Linked DNA regions of Homo sapiens: regions 1, 3 and 4 are each linked to region 2. The links are contacts of gene promoters, found by promoter capture Hi-C in blood cells and fetal thymus (Javierre and others, 2016). All regions are on one chromosome and are shown on one strand. Each heading gives the region's core, a stretch centred on a gene start or on the middle of the fragment in contact. The rest is flanking DNA. Distances are from core to core; before and after follow the strand shown. Region 1 has its middle 260 kb from the start of NHLRC3. Region 2 holds the start of LHFPL6 (LHFPL tetraspan subfamily member 6). Region 3 has its middle 74 kb from the start of NHLRC3. Region 4 has its middle 130 kb from the start of NHLRC3.

Evidence for each region. Contacts are between HindIII fragments. The CHiCAGO score rates a contact against its expected background, and 5 or more counts as called.
Region 1: a contact is called between a fragment that was not itself captured here and the fragment with the promoter of LHFPL6 in region 2, in 1 of 17 cell types (M2 macrophages). The highest score is 6.3, in M2 macrophages.
Region 3: a contact is called between a fragment that was not itself captured here and the fragment with the promoter of LHFPL6 in region 2, in 1 of 17 cell types (activated CD4 T cells). The highest score is 5.2, in activated CD4 T cells.
Region 4: a fragment that was not itself captured here is called in contact with the fragment with the promoter of LHFPL6 in region 2 in 2 of 17 cell types (M0 macrophages and erythroblasts); the score reaches 6.1 in M0 macrophages.

What each region holds. Positions count from the first base shown.
Region 1 is chr13:39,291,038-39,296,315 of GRCh38, forward strand. No RefSeq gene overlaps it. Among named protein-coding and RNA genes, the nearest start is that of NHLRC3, 260 kb to the left of the region's middle. The HindIII fragment of the contact is 5,662 bases long and covers 1-4,205 here.
Region 2 is chr13:39,600,555-39,605,698 of GRCh38, forward strand. It overlaps LHFPL6 (LHFPL tetraspan subfamily member 6), which reads right to left and starts at 2,639. Exons shown (of 4, transcript NM_005780.3): 1 at 2,329-2,639; 2 at 278-836. The coding sequence starts at 662. It overlaps LOC112268119 (protein SPT2 homolog), which reads left to right and starts at 770. Exons shown (of 4, transcript XM_035861111.2): 1 at 770-839; 2 at 1,896-1,986; 3 at 2,090-3,088. The coding sequence starts at 770. RefSeq lists a silencer at 2,534-2,833. The HindIII fragment of the contact is 2,884 bases long and covers 1,015-3,898 here.
Region 3 is chr13:39,109,297-39,114,823 of GRCh38, forward strand. No RefSeq gene overlaps it. Among named protein-coding and RNA genes, the nearest start is that of NHLRC3, 74 kb to the left of the region's middle. The HindIII fragment of the contact is 1,673 bases long and covers 1,950-3,622 here.
Region 4 is chr13:39,168,960-39,174,668 of GRCh38, forward strand. It overlaps the pseudogene NXT1P1. Among named protein-coding and RNA genes, the nearest start is that of NHLRC3, 130 kb to the left of the region's middle. The HindIII fragment of the contact is 244 bases long and covers 1,368-1,611 here.

The DNA.
Region 1 (5,278 bases), core at 125-2,624, 310 kb before region 2:
ATCACTTCACCCTACGCTCTTCTACCACTCAATGGTCTTCACCCTTCAGCCCACTCCAAAACCCTTAAAAACCCTACCTCCAGACTCCTCGGGGAGACAGGTTTATTTGAGGTTTCCTCCTGTCTCCTCGTTGGGCAGCCCTACAATTAAACCTCTTTCTCTGCTGCAACCTGGTGTCTTGGCATATTAACTTGCTGTGTACTTTGAGCAACAGACCCATTAGGGTTACAGTGAGACATTGTGTTTTCAGAAAACTTTACACTTCACAAATTGTCACCAACGCAATGCATCTGGTTGAGAACACTCAATTCTGTTTTCTTCCAGACAGATTGAAAGCCTATCCTCTACACGGCTTGCAAGAAGTTGGTTGACTAGCCCCACATTTATGCAGATGCCCCATATGGTTATTTATAGCAAAAGTTCTACTAAGAGTCTCTGGATGAAATCATATTAATTTACTTACCAGTTGGTTTGTTTGGGGTTTTGTTTTTTCAAAAAAAAATCCCATTTATTTAATGAGTTAAGAGATCCTTGGATGGAGGAAAAAAGAGTAGTCAAAGAGAACAGACATTCAGTGAGAAATTTCTTTGTTGTGCCACCACTATTCTGGCCTAACTTCACAAATCATTGAAGCATGCCATCCAAAAACTCAAAAAGATTGAGAAACACTAACATAACACTAATGTGCAAATTATGTGTTTCTTATATATATACATAATAGGTTTCTCCACCTTAAATGGTTTGAAACAGAAAAAAAAATGTCTTGGAGTTTGCCTTTATAAAAACATTTCAAAGTGTTCTTTATCATTTCGTGGGAAAAAAAAGTTAACAGTAAAAGGAAAATTTCCACAGAATCCAATACCAAAGGGATCTGTTCTTTCATGGATTCGCCTCTGAAAGTTCTCCTGCTATGGAAGGAAATGATGCAGAGTGATCCAATAAATTAAAAGGCAGAATAACTGGCTTTCTGGAAAAGAATAAATGAGGAAGACCTCATAGACTTGAAGAACAAAGGAAGATGTTTTTATGTGCAACCTATCCGGTATTCTAAAATAGATGTTTCACTGGTAGATCAGGCAGCCATGGAGCAATTTTCAAAGCTCTAAGGGTGCAATCAATTGAATGCATTTTACTCTTCCTTGGTGCCCATTTGGGGACTCCACACTTCTGTCACAAGCTACCTGGCTCATCCTGCAAAACACCTTTTTCATCAGATGAGGAAAAATAATCTTGATTACCATTTGACCCAGAAATCCCATTACTAGGCATATACCTGAAAGAATATAAACCATTCTACCAAAAAGACACATGCACATGTATGTTCATCACATGATTATTCACAATAGCAAAGACATGGAATCAAGCTAAATGTCCAACAGTGGTAGACTGGATAAAGAAAATGTGGTACGTATACACCACGGAATACTACACAGCCACAAAAAAGTGAGATCATGTCCTTTGCAGTAACATGGATGGAGCTGGAGGCCATTATCCTAAGAAAACTAATGTAGGATCAGAAAACCAAATATTTCATGTCCTCACTTATAAGTGGGAGCTAAACACTGAGTACACAAGAACACGAAGAAGGGAACCATAGACACCAGGGCCTACTTGAGGGTGGAGGCTGGGAGGAAAGAGAGGATCAAAAAACTACATATCAGTTACTATGCTTATTACCTGGGTGACAAAATAATCTGTACACCAACATCCCATGACACATAATTTACTTGTATAATAAACCTGCACATGTACCCATGAGCCTAAAAGTTAAAATAACAATAACAATAATAATTATTATTATTATCTGGGTTTCCATTAAAGCCAGGGGGCTAGAAAGACGTAAGTGGGAAATAATGGTTTGTAGCCTTTCATCAGAAGACTGAAAATACTTTTTCATCGTGATCCCTTTTCATCTTTTCCCAAGTTCTTGTGTGGATTGAGATAATAGCAATGAAATTGTTGCATAACTAGTGGGCCATACTTGACATAATAATGGATGACTCCAGAAGAGTGAACACACAGTGGGGCAAATGTAGAAGTATACTGTCATCTGTAAGAATAGAAGTAGCCTTTGTTTTATGATAAACTTGATTTCATTATAGTACTTGATTTCTCTCTCTTTCCATGAAAGTGAGTTTTGTAAAGGCTGAAAATCGCATGTGTACACTTTCACTGTTCAACACAGAGGATCTCTCAATGCCATTTTTGTTTTAAAGTCTTTAAAAGAAATTGCCCAGTGCTCCTTTGGATGCCCATCCAAATGCTCAGAGGAAACTGCATGAAAAAATTGTAAATTTTAAATCTTTCTCCTGTAAAGGAACTCTTTGGATGAGAAATAACCAGCCATCTAAATATAGGCTTATGTAAAATTTGTTTTTAACATGTATCTCAAACTTCAGGTATTTTCTCAAGCCCTGTGTTCAAAAAATTAACAAAAGAATATTCTTTGGAAATGTGCTTTGAACTTGTGCTTACTGTAAAATTCAGTACAAGGAGCATGTTGAAACTGTAACTTCTGGGAGGGAGTATGATAGTTTGTTTAAGAACTCCAGGGCTAATGAAAGTAGTAAGAATGAGAAAGTCAAGAAAATGTTAAGGTGTTTCATTACAAAAATGATCAAATATTCAGAGTTGATGTTGCAAAAAAAAAAAATAGAAAATGCAACAACTAATGAATTGGCACAGCCTTTTCAAATGATTTGCTTTTCACCAACAAGCCTGACTGAGCAAGGTCAAGATAGCACAGCACTGTCCAGAAGTGACAAATTTATTAGGATTTAAAATAGCAACACATGCATGTCATGAGAGATGGGCAACTGTGACTTATTCTTTCCCCTAGGAATGTACAATTTTTAAAAAATCTATTGACAGAACAGCTGAAACATGAACATGCAAGTTTTAAATTGCACGCCTAGGCCTATATTAATAAATGAGAGTAGAGACAGCCTTCTCTGTGATACTCTCCGAATATTTTATATTGAATCACACAAACAAGGATTAGAGGGCTATCGTCACAATAATAGAGAGATGACACAAATGAAAACCAAGGGAAATTTAAATTATGATTTGCCACTCTAATAACTTGAATATGTTCCTCTTATTTTAGAGTAAGAGGCCATAACAGAATTAGAAGAAATGGAAAGGCTTTTGTACAATAGTTTAGGGAAGAAGGACATGACAGTATTTTACTTTGGGTCAAAATAATCATATTCACTGTCAGTAATTAATTAGGACAAATTAATTACTGGAGTCCATTTGTTTATAGCCAATTATGAAGTTCCACTATGTGCCAGTAATGTAGTAGGAGTTGGAGATGGAAACGAGCATGAAAATAAATCATTACAATTATAACAAGATACGTACAAGTGCCAGGCAATGCTTGACAGCCCTCAATATGTTTGTTGAGTGGCTGAATGGCTGAACACAGAGAAAGTAATGTCAGACCTAAAAGGATGATGAAAGACTTCTCAACTGTCCAGCGTCAAAGAGTCATTGATGTCTCACAAGCCTACATTTATACTGCTCTCTTCTAATCAAAGTGACCCCAAACCACTGTTTTTTGGGGATGGGCATATGCTGTTTTGATTCCCAATCCCGACTTTGAAGTTGAAATAAGTCCTGATAACCCATCATCAAAGGATTGCACCAGGTATCTGTGCATGAGTTGAAACATGCAGATGTGGATTGGGTGCCAGGTAAGTGAACCACCTCTGTGACATCCCTCTGTAGTCATTTGCTTTGGTGCCATAATAAATCACCACAGTTTAGTGGCTTAAAACAAAACTAATTTATCATCGCAGTTTCTGTAGGCAGAAGTCCCAGAACTGCAGGGCTCAACTGGGCATCTGTGTAGAGTCTCACAGGGCCAAAATTAAGGCAGCAGCAGGGCTATGACCCACGTCCACATTTTCTTGTTGGCTGTGGACTGTGGACCAGGGCATTCTCAGACACTAGACCTGCCAATATTCCAAGGCTCATGGTCCCCTTCCTCCATCATCAAAGCCCACAGGTGCAGGTCAAGTCCTCCTCAGGCTGCCATGCCTCTTCTGCCTTCTCTTCCATTAGCGTATCTCTCTGACTGCCACTTCCTTCTTCCTCTTCTAAGGGCCCAAGTGATCACAAACTTCACCTCACAGGCAAAGTCTTTTTCCAACTATGGGAACATATTCAATGGTCCCAGGGATTAGGGCATGGACATCTTTGGAAGCTTGTTATTCTGTCCACCACAGCCTACTTTCAAACCTCCACAATATATGTGTTTCATAGCCATAGAGAGTGGCAGCAAGCCACTGCCATTGATCTTTAGTTTTTGGTGAATGAAAAGCAAACATACTCCATTTATTACCACTAAGAATGCAGGGATATTTTTCCAGTTTACTGTGAAGCTCCCTGATATGGTTTGGTTGTGTCCCCACCCAAATCTCATCTCCAATTGTAATCTGAATTGTAATCCCCATGAGTTGAGGGAGGAACAAGGTGGGAGGTGATTGAAACATGGGGACAGTTTCTCTCATGCTGTTCTCATAACAGTGAGTGAGTTCTCACAAGATCTGGTTGTTTGAGAAGTGTCTGGCACTCTCCCACCCCACCTCCTGCTGCCATGTAAAATGTGCCTGGCTTTCCTTTCACTTTCCACCACAATTGTAAGTTTCCTGAGGCCTTCCCAGATATGTGGAACTGTGAGTCAATTAAACCTCTTTTGTTTATAAATTACCCACTCTCAGGTAGTATCTTTATAGCAGCGTGAAAACAGAAAATTGGTACCAGGATAGTGGGATGCTGCTATAAAGATAAACTAAAACTGTGGAAACAACTTTGGAACTGGGTAATGGGCAGAGGTTGGAACAGTTTGGAAGGCTCAGAAAAAAAAAAAAAAACAGGAAAATGTGGGAAAGTTTGGAGCTTCCTAAAGACTTGTTGAATGGTTTTGACCAAAATGTTGATTGTGATATGGACAATGAAGTCCAGGTTGAGGTGGTCTCAGATGGAGACGAGAAACTTCTTAGGAACTGGAGCAAAGGTCACTCTTGTTATGCTTTAGCAAAGAGACTGGCAGTAGTTTGCCCCTGCCCTAGAGATCTGTGGAGGTTTGAACCTGAGAGAGATGATTTGAAATTGGAACTTATTTTTAAAAGGGAAGCAGAGCATAAAAGTTTGGAAACTTTATAGCCTGACCTTGCAGTAGAAAACAAAAACCCATTTTCTGAGGAGAAATTCAAGCTACCTGCAGAAATTTGCATAAATAATGAGGAGCTGAATGTTAATTTGCCACGACAAT
Region 2 (5,144 bases), core at 1,389-3,888:
ACTACACCTCAAACAACCTAGATGTTACTGTTTCACATAGGTGGCACTTAGCAGGCCAGTGATGTATATGTACAGAAATTAAGAACTCTTGAAGTTGTAAAGCAGCAATTCTGACAATAATCTTGACTTTGGCAACCTATCATCAAAGCCATTCCAAATCTATTTCTCTTATGCATTCCAGGTGTCATTTATAATAATCTCAGTAGACAACTGAAACATAACTTTTAATACTGCTTTGGGATTCCAGTAAACAACTCAAGCTCAGCAAGTCACTTACCCCCAAGAAACTGAATTCCTCCAGCCACTCTTCCCACTGTCCTGGAGATGAGGTCGGAAACACAGCAACCCATGAGGGCAGTGAGCGCCACCAGGAGGAGGAGGCCACAACCCAGGCCGGTCACTATGGTGCAGATCCTCCATTCTGCGCTGGGGATGCCCTGGAAGGAGGCATAGCGCCCACATTCCTCCACCATCACCATCATCTGCCGACTCTCATCATGCACAGGATATGAGCACCTCCGGAAGGTACCGAAGGACACAGGCTTGCCCAGCTGTGATCCCCAGAGCCAGTAAGGCATAAAGAACCCCACGCAGGAGGTGGCAGCACAAAGAAAAGACAGCAAAGCCCAGATTACTCCAGTACAAGTCAGGCTGGATGCCATCTTTCACCAGATAGGGCAATGAGGACCCCAAGTAAGTGTTCAGGGACTGCAGGAGTGAATGAAGGTGTGAAATCACCAGGGACCCACAGATAATCCACAGTTCCGTAATGCAGAATGGATCTTCAGTCTTACTGGGCATCAACTTTCCATCCTCTGCACTAAAGATGATGGTCCCTGGTAAAACAACAGGAAACATTAAAAATTAAAGGCATTAAAAGAAGTGATAACACTGTTTCAGCTAGTCTACAATTTTCAATTAATAAACATTGAGACTTGCCTCAACACTTTAAAAGTGGGAAGAACTAATTCTCTCTATGAGCTTCATAACTCGATTTTTGTCAAACCAGCTCAAAGCTTTTTCATGTCTTTATCTTCCGTAAATATTTCCAAATTAACTCTGACAGCTATTTACTTAAAGAAACGCCCGATTTTTATTTGACAGGCCAATGAATTCATTCTATATATTATATACTCACATTAAAAGTAATGTAGCACTTTCACTGGGCAATAAACAATTAAAATAAAATGAACCATGCCATGATTTCCATTTTTTGGCTTGCAAGTTCATGCTCATAGTTTGTTGCAACTTTTCTATGTCCCTTTAAGGGTGCATTAACTCTCTGCATGAGCCAAACAAACTAATTAGGATAATTTTTCACAATTGCAGAGTACCATAAATTTAACAAGCATTATGGTCTGCGGAGGCACCCACAGTACAGAACTATTACCAGACACTCTTTGTACTCATTCAGCAGCATTTCAGAATTTCTTTAGTCTTAACATCTTCTAGTGTAAAAGAATGCCTGTGTATGACTTATTTTGAGTCTGCAGTTTTGATTCATTGATTCCAACAGTTCTATTGCAATCATTTCTCCCACTGAATGATTGTCTAATTTGAACAGCAATCCATACTTCCCAGTATGCTACATCAAACCCCAGTCATCCAAATGGTTCCAGGGGCATCTACTTCCACCCCAGCCTTTCAAAAAGAGTTCCTTAACCATTTCTCACACTTTCCATAAAGAAATGAATACAGAAGCACAGAGCCCATCCACCCTAGAATTCCACCCCCAGGACCCCTAACTCCAGCTTTCAGGGTCCATAGCAAATTTCCCCCTTTCTTCACCTCGCCCCTACCCGTTTTTTTCTCTAACCACCGCCCATTTTCAGTTCTGGATGTCACTCAAACGGGAGGTCGGCTACTACTTTTTTTTCTAATCTTGTCAACTGCAGTCAGGGCTGAAGTTGATCTATCTGGGCCACGAGGCTGGGGAAGACCAGCAGGGGGTGGCCTGCGGGCAGGGGGCCCCCATCTCCAACTGCGGTGAGGCGCCCTCGCCAAGACAAGCCCATATTTAGCCCCCTGCCATTGCCTCACCGAGCCACTCCACCCATGGAGACACACAATGATCCCTCCATTCTAAAAGGGGGCAAGAGGCATTTTCCAGCCGGCTCTGGACGAAGGGAGGGGATAAGGATGGGAAGGCAGCACCCCCCGGAGGCAGACGCCAAGAGCGGACGCGGCTGGCAGGCAGAGCCGACGGATCCGCCGAGCTCAGGAAGTCCGGAGCCCGGGAGCAGCCCAACTCCGGCTCCGGGGCAGAGAGGGAGCCCGGGAGAAAGCAGCGGAGCCCACGCCCACGGGGCAGCCGAGTGATTTACTTACATGGCTGGCGGGCGGCGGCCACCTTCCCTCCCGCGTCCCGGGCGCACACACAACTTGCTGTCTTTCTCGGGCGGGAACATCCACGGGAAACCGGACCGTCCTGCCCTTCTTTGCCTCTGTCCCTAACAGCCGCAGAACCCCGGGGCCCGACCTGGAAGAGCAGGGGTTGGCAGGAGGCGGAGGGTCTCCAGAAGCGGGCTGGCACCAGCGGAGACCCCCACTCCCGGCGAGTCCGCGGCGGCAGCTCTGGCGGAGCGCTGTGGGCGCGCGCGGGCGCCGGGGATCGCACGCAGAGGAGCGGATCTCCCTTTGGCAGGCGAGGCACGCACCGCCTCCTCCCCTCCGCTGCCCGGCCCTCCTCTTTCTCCAGTCCCCTCCCCTCGCGCCCCGGGGAACTCCGCGCAGACAGACCCAGGACGCACCGGGGACGTTCCTGGAGCGCCGGGAAGGGAGTGGGGGGGTGCCCCGCTGTCCGCGCGGGTCCAGGCCCACCCCCGGGGGCAGCTTTCGCGGCTCCTCCCCTAGCCCCGAGCCCCCTCGCGCCCCCTCTCCCTGCGTCTCATTCAAAGCTGAGTGGGGAAGGCAGACAGACCGAGAAGTATGGGAGAAAGTTGCTTGTCTTCCTGGGTGACCCCGAGGAGCCACGGAAGATGACACACTTTGCCTGTTGGGGCTTTTCTGGGTTTACTGTTCGGGTTTATGCTCCTGTTTTCCTGCCGCCGTTAAAAGAAGCCGTAGACGGGAAAGAGGGCCTTAAAGAGTGGGTAAAGTGGCCCCTTTGAGATTTGAGGAGGCTTTTGAGAAGTGGTCACTTTGGAAGGCGGTGAATGAGGCGGTTGTGGACGTGGGAATTAAAGCACAGCAGACAGCCCAAGGCTCATGTATGGCATGGGGGCAGCTGCCTTTCCAGACGAGCCAGGGAGAAGGCAGGGGCGGACCTCTAGCGAGCCTCTCCCAAGAGATACACTCTTTCAAAGGTCTCTCTCTCTCTCTCTTGCTGTTTCTCTGTCTCTCTCTCCCTCCCTCCCTCCCTTTCCCTTCACTTCCTCCCTCCCTTCTCCTCCATCCTGCCTCCTGATCAATTTTGCAATTTATTCCATCGTTTGATTTCTTTTCTGAGAAACAACTGATTTTTAGTTCCCCTCTGGACTTGAGGACTTTTTCCACTTGTCATTAGCACTAACCCCTTTAGAAGTTTAGAGCTAGATTCAGTAGATGACTGTGGGAGTCTCTGCTGAACACAGTATTTTAAGAAGTATGCCATCTGGGAACAGCAGTTTTTGAAGTAGACAGTTTCCCAGATATAGTTTTTGTGAGGTGTCTTTTTAGAGGAGTTGAAAGTAATAAATTGGTAGGTATATATTTCATAGCAGATTTTCAGACTGCACCATTTTAATTAGCCGTGATGGTGTACATTTTTCCCACAACGACAGCTGGAGATATGTGTTCTTTTATTATTATTTTGAAAGACCTTAAGTGATTGATTCCAAGCCTTTTGAGGTCACAGGTCTTTTAAAAAATACGATGAAACTGATAAGCCTTCCAGAAAAAAAAATGCGCGGACATATAAAGCTTTACCACAGCGATTCTGAAGAAGGAAAGGGATATTTGGCAAGGTCTGAAGATAATTTTGATTATCATAACCCATGAATGGGGAGTATTACTGGCATCTAGTTGGTAAAGACCCGAGATTCTGCTAAATACAGTGCACAGGACAGTCCCCAAAATTACCTGGGCCAAAATGTCAATCATTTGAATGAAATATCAGGTGGTTTCCCATTCCCTTAAAGCCCATCCATGAATCCCATATTCAGAATCCCCAATTTAAGTGTTTTTGTTTTTGGTGTTGTTGTTGAGTTTAAGTTGTTTTAACTCTTCTCTTACAAATCACCGGTTACTGGTTTCAGTGACAGCATAAGAATGATTGGTCTGACTTCCAGTTAGGTACCACACCCTTAGTTATTACACAGAGCCTTCATACCTATATAATATGATGGTGGAAGATATGATCATAAAAGACAAAAGAATAATAGTGAGAATCGGAGTCACCTCCGTACAACCTGCAGGGGAAATTGCTCTCAAACACTTTCTTAAGTGTGAGAAAGCTTAAGCGCAAGTGCTGGCTGGAGACATATTAATGATAATCATGGTTACTACAGATTGACTCCTTGCTGTGTGTTAGTACATTAAGGTCCCTTAATAGATTACTTATCCAGTCCTCAAAAAAGAAAAGAAAAATTATGAAGAAGGAATAATTATTATTTTACCGCAAGGATAAGAAGTAATTTGCCCAAAAATTTACAGCTAAAAAATGACTTTTAAAAAAATCTCATTATTTGCACTCTCTTAAGCAGAGTAAATGCTATCACAGAGATTCTGCCTAAAATGAAAAAAAAAATGACAGAAGAGGCCAAATTTTTAAAAATCTTTCAGGATGCAATATCAATTATTTGTGAAAGTATAATACTGGGACTCAAATTTCTAACTTAAATAAGTGAATTCAGACAAATGGTGATCTTCCCAAGCCCTAAGTTATCTCATTGTTAAAAAGAGATTGAAATAGGTTATTTTAATTTTTTTTAAGCTCACAACTTCCAGCATCATGGTTATATGGGTCCTCTTATCTTTGAGAAGGAATTTAGAGATCATCTAATCTTGTTCAAGTATGTAATTTTACAGCTGACAAAACAGAGGCTCGAAATTCTTCCAGTGTCTTACCCAAAGCTGAGGCTATAATCCACATATCTTGATTTCTCTTTCTAATTATCTTACTAAACTATAATATCTTCTGAATTACTCCTTATGTTCTTCCATGC
Region 3 (5,527 bases), core at 1,536-4,035, 490 kb before region 2:
ATGAGCATAGCAGAAATTACCTAGCTCTTTGCAGCAATGTCGGTAAACTCAAATGTCTACTGATGCCAGATGAATAATAACAATGGCAGAAGTGAACCACGTTTAGTGATAGGGTGTGGTGGGGACTTTGGCAAGCAGTTTTTATGCTTCATTTTCTCAAAAGGAGATTTTGATTTTTAAAAAAGTACATTCTTATTGGTCCAGAAGTCCACCTTTTAGGAATTTATGTTGAAATTACACCTTCCTTATGCAAAACAACATTTGCATTCATTGCATGCATCCATTATAATGTCTTAAAGAAAATATTGGAGAAAAACCAGGACCTTTTCAAAAAGCACTGGCTCAATAAACTTCTCAATTTTCAAAATAAATACAACTTATTCAAACCTAAAGAAAATTGAACATGTCTGCAAGGTGTTTTCATCTCACAAGCTGCGAGTTTGCAACTGTCGGGTGTCGGGGAACTGCTAGCTAGCTACTTGCTGATCACTTCAACCTCTATTTGCATTAAACACATTTTCTGCTGGCAAGTTTGGGAAAACGGAATATTATTTAGGAGTGAGCAGTACACATAGGATATTAAAGTTCCTGTTACAGTTTAGTTTTCTTGGGAGTTAGCACTTTGGAGGAAGATTTAACTTGAAATGCATTCACTTTGCACCTTTTAAGCAGATATTTACACTTGCTTGTGTTAAAATGAAAGTGTTTAGCTACAGGAAGAAAAAAAGGCACAGACTTGTCTTTATTCAACCAACACAAAGAAAACTTTGGAGAACCTGGGGGATAGGGAGTAAGTAAGAAGAGGGAGAGGAAGAAAGTGACGACTATCTTGGTTAATAAAAAATGTCAGGTCAGGAGTCCACGTGCCCTAACAAGGCATCTCTTCTCCCCTAGGTTTTTTACAATTCCATTGTAAAATCTAGATTCTCATCAGGACACATTTTATCAAAGAGAATTTCCCTGTATACATTATGTTGCTAATCAAATTTTGCTTAATAAAAATAAAATGTATGTATAAAAAATAAGGAGTATGTACACCCTGCATTCCATAAAGGAAGGGGTATTCTTATCAGAAATAATAGATTATATTTATCATCGGAACCCAGTCTATCTTTCTAAGGGGGATTTAGAGTGGTCCATAGGAAGAAATGTATTTTTTCATTACCAAAACTTTTCAAAAGCCTTTTCAGTGTAAGAGATATACAAATGATATTTAAACATATGAAATGATGCTCTATTTCACTCATGAGAAATGCAGATTAAAGGTATGTTAAGATACCATTTATTACCTATCAGTTTGGCAAAAATTTCAACACTTACTGATATGCTATCAACAGGGCTTTGGGAAAGCAGGCACTCTCATACATGATTGTTGGGAATGCCAAATGGTATAGCCCTTGTATTAGTCAGGGCTCTTCAGAGAAATAGAACCAATAGGGTGTGTGTGTAGAGAGAGAGAAAGAGATTTATTTGAAGGAATTGGTTCACACTATACTGGAGGCTGGCAAGTCCAAAATCTGCAGGGTGGACCAGCAGGCTGAAAACCTAGGAAAAGCTGATGCTGCGGCTCAAGTTCACAGCCTGTCAGGCTGGAGAATTCCCTCTCCACTCCTGCTCAGGGCAGGCTAGTCTTAATGCATTTAAGTGAGCCAGGGATTCATGAGACCATATTATTTTTCAGAAGCGCTTAATCAAGATCTCAAGTACTTTGAGTTCTCCTGTCATTCTACTCCCATCCAAAATGTGGATGACTTTTTCTCCCCTAAGTTTCAATGATTTAAAAAAGTCCAATACAGATTCTATATACCTTTTGACTTTTTTTCTTTTTCTGCCTCAAAAGGATACAAGGTATCAAAAATGTGAAATTATCAGATATAGTTTCATATTTTGGGGTCATGATTTGTTTTTGTATCAAATCTCTTTCCTCTGTCTGATTACAACATATCCAAAGCTTTCTTGGGTCAGTTACCAAAAGAAAACTCGAGAGGAGCTCTAGTATCACTGGTTATTTTAGGGGGTTAGAGAGGAAAGAGATTAGAAGTGGAAAGGCTCCTAGGAGGCTAAATATAGCAAATGATTTCCAGGGCCTGAACTAAGGCAATGGCAGCAGCAAGAAAATAGGGAAAGTAGAATCGATTGTTCTTGGAGATGCCCAGGTCTCTTGCTCAAGCAGCTGGATGGTTGCATTATCCTCCATTATCTCCTTCACAGAAAGTGACCATCTTGGCTGCTGCATAAAGTGCTAATACCAAAAAGAAACACACAACAATAAAATTCACATTCTCAAAATAAAAATAAAAAAAGAAAGCCAAAGAAAAATGATGCACTGCTTTGACTAACTGGTTCTTTAGATTTTAATTACAGAAGAAAGAAATTATAGAATTTTCTTCCATACTAGGGTGAAACATAAAATTCAGCCTTTGTGGCATGAGGTGGAGGTTGGGTGGAATTTAGGTCCAGCAGGATCAATTTTGACATCCAAGCATTTAGGACTCACTGTTCCAAAGCAACAGGTGAAAATGAGGTCTCTATAGCATCATGGCACCACTATACAGTCATTTTGATGTGGAAAATTAATGATTTCTGATTTCTTTTCCATGGGAAATCTGATGCTTAGAGAGCAGAGCAGTGTTGATATTATTAATATCGGGGAAAAATTATAAGCTGTATATCATTGCTTGGCTGTCCTGTAAAGAGTAGTGGACACATCCCACCAGGGGAGTGTGTGATAATGTGCAGATTCGCATGAATGCACACATACACCCTTTGGCTTGAAGATTCGAGTTAAAGCATAATTCAAGCCAATCAGGACAAAAACTAAAAGATAGGCGCAGGGGATGGAGACAATTCACTACATAATATGTACTCATATGTCCAAGGTATATTGTTATGGTAGATTTTATTATTTTTCAAATTATTCACTGCCTCTTCCCAAAGTGAAAGTTTTCCTGGGGGCCCTTTCTCTGTTGTGTTGCTTCCTGCAGAAGGATTACACATTCCTGCCCTGTTCAGGTGGAGCTGTGTAACTTATTTAGAACAATAAAATTTGAGTGAAGTCATGTAAGTTATTTCTGAGCAGAAATTTTAAGAGCTAGTGAATAGTTCCCTATCTCTCTTTGTCCTCTGCTTGGAGACCAGTAAATCCAGATAGGGGCTTTCCCATCAAATAGGGCCCCTGTGTGAAAATAAGGGGCAGAGTTTCAGCTGACCCACAATGGCTTATTACATGAGTGAGGAATACGGGGATCTCTTGTTACTGCAGCATAACTTAGCCTAAGCTGACAAAACTGTATTACTTACTCCATCAATTATGCTACATAGTTAACATAGTCTTGCTACAAAATTCCAGTTGGTATTTAAAAAATAAGCATTTATTTCTCACTCTTGTTTGCAGGTTGGCTGAGGTCCAACTTATCTAGATTGGATTTGGCTGGCCGTGGCTTCAGGCTTAGGCTGAGTTCAGGTACATTCCACGTGCTACTCATTCTGAGACTAGAAGGTTACCCTGGACACATTCTTCTCATGACAAAAGGAAAGAGCACAAAAGGACAACCCCAAGCCTATAGATGTGTTTTAAATGGACTGCTTTCATCCCATTCAGAACATTCAATTGGCCAAAGCAAGCTTCCCGGCTAAATCCAGTATCAGCTAGGCAAGGAAATATACTCTGCCTCTTGTAGGGCAAACTGCAAAGTCTTATGACTAAGGTGGTAGATAAAGGGAGAAGGAAAGAGTAGAGAACAATAATGCAATCCACCACTAGCTGGATAATTATTTATCAGCAGGTTCAATGGGAGTCCCTTGAATTCTGTGTGCTCCTGGCATGAGCCACACCATCACCTCTCTCCCTGTGTGACATTTACAGCTGGAGAGGATCCAAATTCTGTGGGACTGAGCTTTATACACTTTGGGGTGCTCTTTTCAAGTAAAAGATCACAAAATACCAGGCAAATGTATTGCTAGCTTCTCCTGGGGTCCTCAAAAGGGCCCATGCAAATGAGGGTCTTTGAAACTGAAGCTTCTTTAGCTTCTCATTAAATCAGCCCCTGCTCACAGGCTCACCGCCGTGATCTTTCTTGTGAACAGTCGCTAAAATCTCACTTTTATGTTTACTGACTTATGTCAGTCTTCAAGTAGCTGAGGATTTCCAGATCATCCCACAATACCTATAACTATACGCATGGTTCAAATGTTACTTTCTCAAGGAGAACTTCTTTAACGAGCCTATTAAAAATTGTTTCTACCCCATAGAATCTCCATCCCTTTCCTGCTTTCCTTTTCTTGATAGAATTTATCTTATATATTACATATTTTATTTATTTGTTTGTTTATGTATTTTCTCCCACTAAAATATAAGCTCCATGAGGGTGGGATACTTCATCAGCTTTGAACATTAATATATTTTTAGTGTTTCAAAAAATGCATGGGATATGGTATGTTCTTAATAAAGATGTATTGAACAAGTATATAAAGGAAAGAGTCATGTATTCTGCTGTTTTTATTCTAATGTATGTCGAGAAAGAAAACAGTTGGAATGGAATTGATATTAAACATATTACCAAAACAGAGCTGGAAAGTACCTTAGAGATCATAGTCAAAATTTCTTACTTTATAAATTGGGAAACCTTGCAAAGTAGCTAATTTCTGGGATTTTGCAGATATGGGCATTTAAATGTATACCTTTTACATCATCTTTTTTACTGTTTTATTTTATTTTTTTAAGTTCTGTGGTACAAATGCAGGATGTGCAGGTTGGTTACATGGGTAAACATATACCATGGTGGTTTGCTGGACCTATCAGCTTAGGTATTAAGCCCAGCATCCATTAGCTCTTTTCTAATGCTCTCCCCTCCCCTCCCCTCCCCCAATAGGCCCCAGTGTGTGTTGTTCCCCTCCCTGTGCCCACGTGTTCTTGTTGTTCAACTCCCACTTATAAGTGAGAACATGTGTTGTCTGGTTTTCTGTTCCTGCATTAGTTTGCTGAGGATAATGGCTTCCAGCTTCATCCACGTCCCTGCAAAGGACATGATCTCATTCCTTTTTTGGCTGCATAATAGTCCATGGCATATATGTACCACATTTTCTTTATCCAGTCTATAATTGATGGGCATTTGGGTTGATTCTATGTCTTTGCTATTGTGAATAGTGCTGCAATGAACATACTCATGCATGTATCTTTATAATAGAATGATTTATGTTCCTTTGGGTATATACCCAGTAATGGGATTGCTGGGTCAAATGGTATTTCTGGTTCTAAATTTTTGAGGAATCACCACACTGTCTTCCACAATGGTTGAACTAATTTACATTCCCACCAACAGTGTAAAAGCCTTCCTATTTCTCCATGATCTCACCAGCATCTGTTGTTTCTTGACTTTTTAAAAATCACCATTCTGATTGGCTTGAGATGGTATCTCATTTTCATTTTGATTTGCATTTCTCTAATTGTCAGTGATGTTGAGCTTTTTATCATTTGTTTCTTGGCCACATGAATGTCTTCTTTTGAGAAGTATCTGTTCATATATTT
Region 4 (5,709 bases), core at 240-2,739, 430 kb before region 2:
TAAAAATTCAGCTACCGAGGTGTGATAAATTGAAGCAGTCATGTGAGAGGGCCATGGGTAGGTGTTCTAGCTGAGAGCTAGCATCAACTGCCTGACATGTGAGGGAGCAAGACTTTGCATGATTCCAGATTCTAGCATTTAGGCCACCCCGCCTGAGGCTGATTTATGAACAAAATTAATGTTTTGGTTGCTACTAAGTATTGAGTTGGTTTGTTACAGAGCAATAGATAGCTCTGTAACATTTTTCCCATCATTTTTCTCCAGCACCTCAGTAGCCCTTAGTAACTGCCACCCAGTTCTGCAGGCTTTATCATTACTATTTTCCTAGTATCTTTCGAATGCTTGAGATATTATACCAGCTAGCACCTTCTCTTCCACTTGTATCCCTTCCCAGTTCTTCATTAGTGAAAATCTTTTTTTTTTTTTTTTAGAAAAATAGAAAAGTTGACTACTTTGAAAAGGAAACTATGACAAACAAGTATATATTCAGGAAAGGGACTCCTAGAACTTGAGCAACAAAAAAAAGAGTTCAACCTCAGCACAGTGGAGTCTGCAGTGTCTTTGCAACTACAGAAATGAACTTGTGTTCCTCACATCCTTGAGAGTCGAGATTTGCATTTCTCTACAGAGCTCGGGCTGAATGAAGCAAAGAGACCTCTGCCACCCCCACTAGCTGGCCCAGTCCTGGAAACGGAAGCAGTCACTTGCGATCTTCCACACTGTATTCCTGGGTGAGGCCTGGGCGGTCAGGATGAAGTTCTGGTTGAAGTCCCATTGTTTGTTCCCCTTCAAACTTCACTGATCCACAGATCACAACAAGGACCGTGGTCTGGCTCATTGTGGCTTCATCATGAACAGGCTGACAGTCTACCACGCTGATTTGGAACTCGCTGGAAGGCAACATTTCAAAAAACTCACTCAAAGATTCTTGTCCTGAAACAGCATTGCCGTTCCAGACCAGGGTGGCTGTGCCCATGTACAGGCGGGACAGTGCACAGCTATAGCATGTTGCATGCCAAGGGACATAAGGACTCCACCTACTGCCAGAAAAAGGATCCTCATTGTCATCTGGGCAGAGAATGACACAGCTCCAAAATCCCACTTTAAATTCTGTTTCCAAGGACCACTTGACCACCTTTTGACACAGAGTCCCTGGAGATGAGCTTTGTCTGAGAAGAAAATTTGTGTACAGAAAGTTTATTGGCAATCACACTCAGAAACAAGACACTTAAGAAAATGATGGAATAAAAATTGCGTAGAGATAGAAGCTGACCTGCGATACATACTCAAATTAAATCTTAGTTAATAACATGAAGTTCTCTGCAGCTGAGATGGCTAATGAGAATTGTTCTAAATTCAGAAGAGGAAGCTTGGCCTTTGACCCTTATATCAACATGGCAAGGGGCATGATCTTGAGTGAGGCGTCTCCCAGAGGGCAGCCCCCGGAGAAGGGCGCAGGACTAGCCATCAGGAGCCAACACTCCTAGCAGCTGGGTGAACAAACTCCAGAATGGGTCCTGTAGAGAGGACCTGGGTGATGCACCACAATGCCTGCGACAGGGACGATATCTCTGGGTTAGAGAGGATGGGGATGAAATCGTGAAAACTGGAAGCTTAGAAATGTTTACGACTGGGTGAAAGGAGGTAGTCAGTGGTTATACATTATTTACATGATCAATTCATCCCAGATCATGGAACCCCCTGACGCTAAATCAAACAGAGATCAAACAAATGTGTTTTATTTTCTGCCAGCTAATGAATGCTCACACACATATATATGTAATCATTGTTGTAAATTATTCAGTCTCCTGCCCTGGTAATGCACCGCTGCTCTCTGAGCATGCTCAAGAGTCATTTATCACATCACTTTAGAATCAGCTCCTCCAGAAGATTTCCTTTAATATCTTTACTGACTTTTCAAGAGTTCAGCAACAACCGATTAATTCCTTTTTATCCTGCCCCAAATGTCCCAAATATTTTCATATTGCCTTAAAATATTTATCTTGGGCCAGTTTCCAATCTTGCTTGATTCTTCATCTCATCTTGCTTCAAGGAGAAATTTCCTTTGATGTCCATAGTAAACTACTTCCTTGAAAGGCTACATGTGGTTGTTTAAGAGGATTAGAAAGAAACTTGGTCAGATCACTCTGTCAAGCTGTCAAGGCTTTCATCTTTTCAACCTACCTCCTGTGAATTCCTTGAGACCCTCTAACCCGTATGAATATGTTTTCCATTTTTTTGTGGAGGGTGGTAGTTTTTGTTGTTGTCTGCCCTTTAAAAAATTATTCTCATCACTGAATGGCACCATGGCCCCAAATATCTGCATTAGAAATATTTACCCAAAGGTAATCTTCTACCACATGCTCCCAATTTAGTGTAAAATTACATAGTAAATTCTGACTAATGACTGTGTTTGAAATAATTTTTCTTTGCTCTTTTATTTTTTTTAACACATTTCTACTCATCTTTCCATAGCTTCTACAAATACCACTCTCTCTTGTAAAACCTTTCTTTATTTCTCCTGGGCAGAATTAATCACATTTTCTTCTGGATACCTCTACTAGTTCATTCATTCATTCATTCTGCAGTTGCTTATTGAAGTCTACTATACGTCACATATTGTACTGATTCTGAGTACAGATATAAGAAAACTCCCTGCTTTTTTAGATCAGTGAAAAAGAAGAGTAAATAAATAGTTATTACAGTGTCATAACTTCGATGATAGAGGAAGCAGAAGATGCTGTGGAAAGAGAATGGGGGAACTCAATTTGGACTGAGTCTCAAAGGATGAATGACGGTTTTCCAGTTGTAGGGGGCAAGATGGACATTTTGGTGAGAGGAAGCAGTCTGAGCCGGGCAGGCCTCTTTAGGAGAATTATATGTAGCTGCAAAAGGCTAGAGCACGATACATGTGCAGGTCTAACTAGGCACTTGGAAAGGAAGGCAAAGCCATGCTGAGTCACTTGGGAAGCCACTGAAGGTTTATTCCTAAGAAAGTGACATGATATACCTTTTCATATTATCTTTCTATAAAAGAGTTAACCAAAGGGGAAGAAAAAAGACAATATAAGGAAGTAAAAGCTAAGAGTAATATCTGTAACAAATAAAATACGTGGATTAATATTCTTAATAAATGCCTTAAAATCAGTTAGGAAAAGTACTAACATTCCAGTAGTAGGCAAAGGACACATTTTTTGCTTATATTATTCTTTTTAATTGACACATATTAATTGTGCATATTTATGGGGTACAAAGTGATATTTTGATATGTGCATACGATGTGTAATGATATCCACCACCTGTAAAATTTATGATGTTTTGTGTGAGGAACATTCAAAATCCACTCTTCTAGCTATTTAAAAATATACAATAATTTATTGTTAATAATTGTCACCCTACAGTGGTATAGAACACTAGAACTTATTCTTCCTCTCTAGCTATAATTTTGTATTCCTTAACCAATTTCTGGCTGCCCTCCCTTTCTTCTACCATTCCCACCCTCTAGTGACTCTTATTTTACTCTCTGAGATCAATGTTTTTAGCTACATATGAGTCAGACCACACAGTTGTTTTTTTTTTTTTTTTTGTGCCTGGCTTATTTCATTTAACATTACGTCCTCCGAATTCATCCACATTGCCATAAATAACAGGATTATCTTCTTTTTTATGGCTGAATATCAATAGTATTCCATGGCATATAGAGAGAGTATATTTTCTTTATCCATTCGTCTGTTGATAGACACTTAGGTTGGTTCCATATCTTGGCTATTGTGACTAGTGCTGCAATAAACACGGGAGTGCAGATATATCTTCAATATTCTGATTTCCTTTCCTTTGGATATATACCCAGTAGTAGGCTAGCTGGATCATATGGTAATTCTATTTTTAGTTTTCTGAGGAACCTCCATACTATTTTCAATAATGGCTGGACTATTTTTCATTCATATCAAGAGTGTGTGAGAGTTCCCCTTTCTGCACATCTTCACCAGCATTTTTAATTTTTTGTCCTTTTGTCTACAGCCATTCTGACTGGGGTGACATGGTATCTCATTGTGGTTTTGATTTACATTTCCCTGATGATTAGTGATGTTGAGCATTTTTTCCTATTCCTGTTGGCCATTTGTATGTCTTCTTTGGAGAGATGTCCATTCAACTAATTTGCCTATTTTAATTTTTTTTTTTTTTAACTGTTGAGTTGTTTGAGTTCCTTGTATAGTATGGATATCAATCCCTTGTCATGTGAATAGTTTGCAAATATTTTCTTCCAGTCTGCAGGTTGTCTCTGCAATATGTCAATTGTTTCCTTTGCTGTGCAGACACTTTTGTTTGATAAAATTCTAGTTGTTTATTTTCTCTTTGGTTGCCTGTGCTTTTGAGATCTTCTCTATAAAATCTTTGCCCAGCCCAATAAAAGGAAACATACTGACAGTTCATAAAACGTTAACATGGTTTTTCTTTACATGCTGGAATTAATGCCTTATTTTTAGTGTCTTCTGTATCTATTTCTGTACTTTCCAAATTATCCATAATGATCATATATTACTTTTAAAGTTCTTTCTTAATGGAAAAAGAATAATTTAAAGGATCGCTCTGGTAATGTAAACAAATTTGAGGAGAGTCAGATGAAGGAGTGAATCATTTTGCAAAGCAATGAGCATCTCAAAAGAGGTGTGGCTGCAGGGTGAAGAAGGGGAACCAAACTAAAGAAATGTTTAGAGAGGAAATAAGATATGGTGATTAATAATATTCGATGTTGTATATATGGATTTGGAGTTTGGGAAAATGCTTATGGATTTATCAGCACTGTTGTTTCCTAAATTATTGTAGAAGGATCTATTTGTATAGGAGGCACATCAATAATCCAGATCATTTTCAGAAATCTGGTTTGAAATTAAGTGATCAAAGAAGCACACAGCACATGTGATTACATCAGTGTTTTCTATGAGATGTTAACAGATGTTACAAGATGAAGGACTTCCCTGGACAGAAAATTGGGGGAACATCAGGTTAACAAACTTTATATATGTATTTAAGGCATAGAGTTTCTCAGATTCTTTAATATGCTGAAGTGCACTATGAATCATTAATAGTGGCATATAGTATGCAGCATTTCCCAAAACTGTTTTACAGTAGGCCACTTTTTTCAGACTATCTCTGGGAAAAATGTTTTATAATAGCAACCAGAAACCATGGATTACACATTTGCAAATGTATTCTAAATACAAAATTTTCACTGGAACTAGAAGTAAAAATAATAAAGTAAGAAGAAGCAGGGAACATCTATTATACTACATACAATAGTAACAAATCTAAAGAAGGCTTATGTCACGAGAAGTGAGATGGTTACCAATAAAGCATAGAAATACAGACAAAAGAGGAATAGTTAAGAATTCATAAGGGAAAAGAATGGGGTGGCCTTCTCTATGGACTTGCCCAATATAGTCTCTAGAAAGAATTTCCCTGCTTTAAGGGTGGATGCATTATGAGGCTATCCCATTAATTAAACCTGGATTCAGTGTGTAGCAGTATCTCTCTTTATAAAGTAATATATTAATGAATTAGCGTTCTCCTTGTATATAATATACTTATACACCTCCATGAAGTATGCATGTATGATTAAATCAATTGAGCTTGCTTAATTCTGGGGTTTGAAAACTGAGTTTCTGGATTTACAAAATAAGGGTCAAACAATAAAGCACTTATTTATTT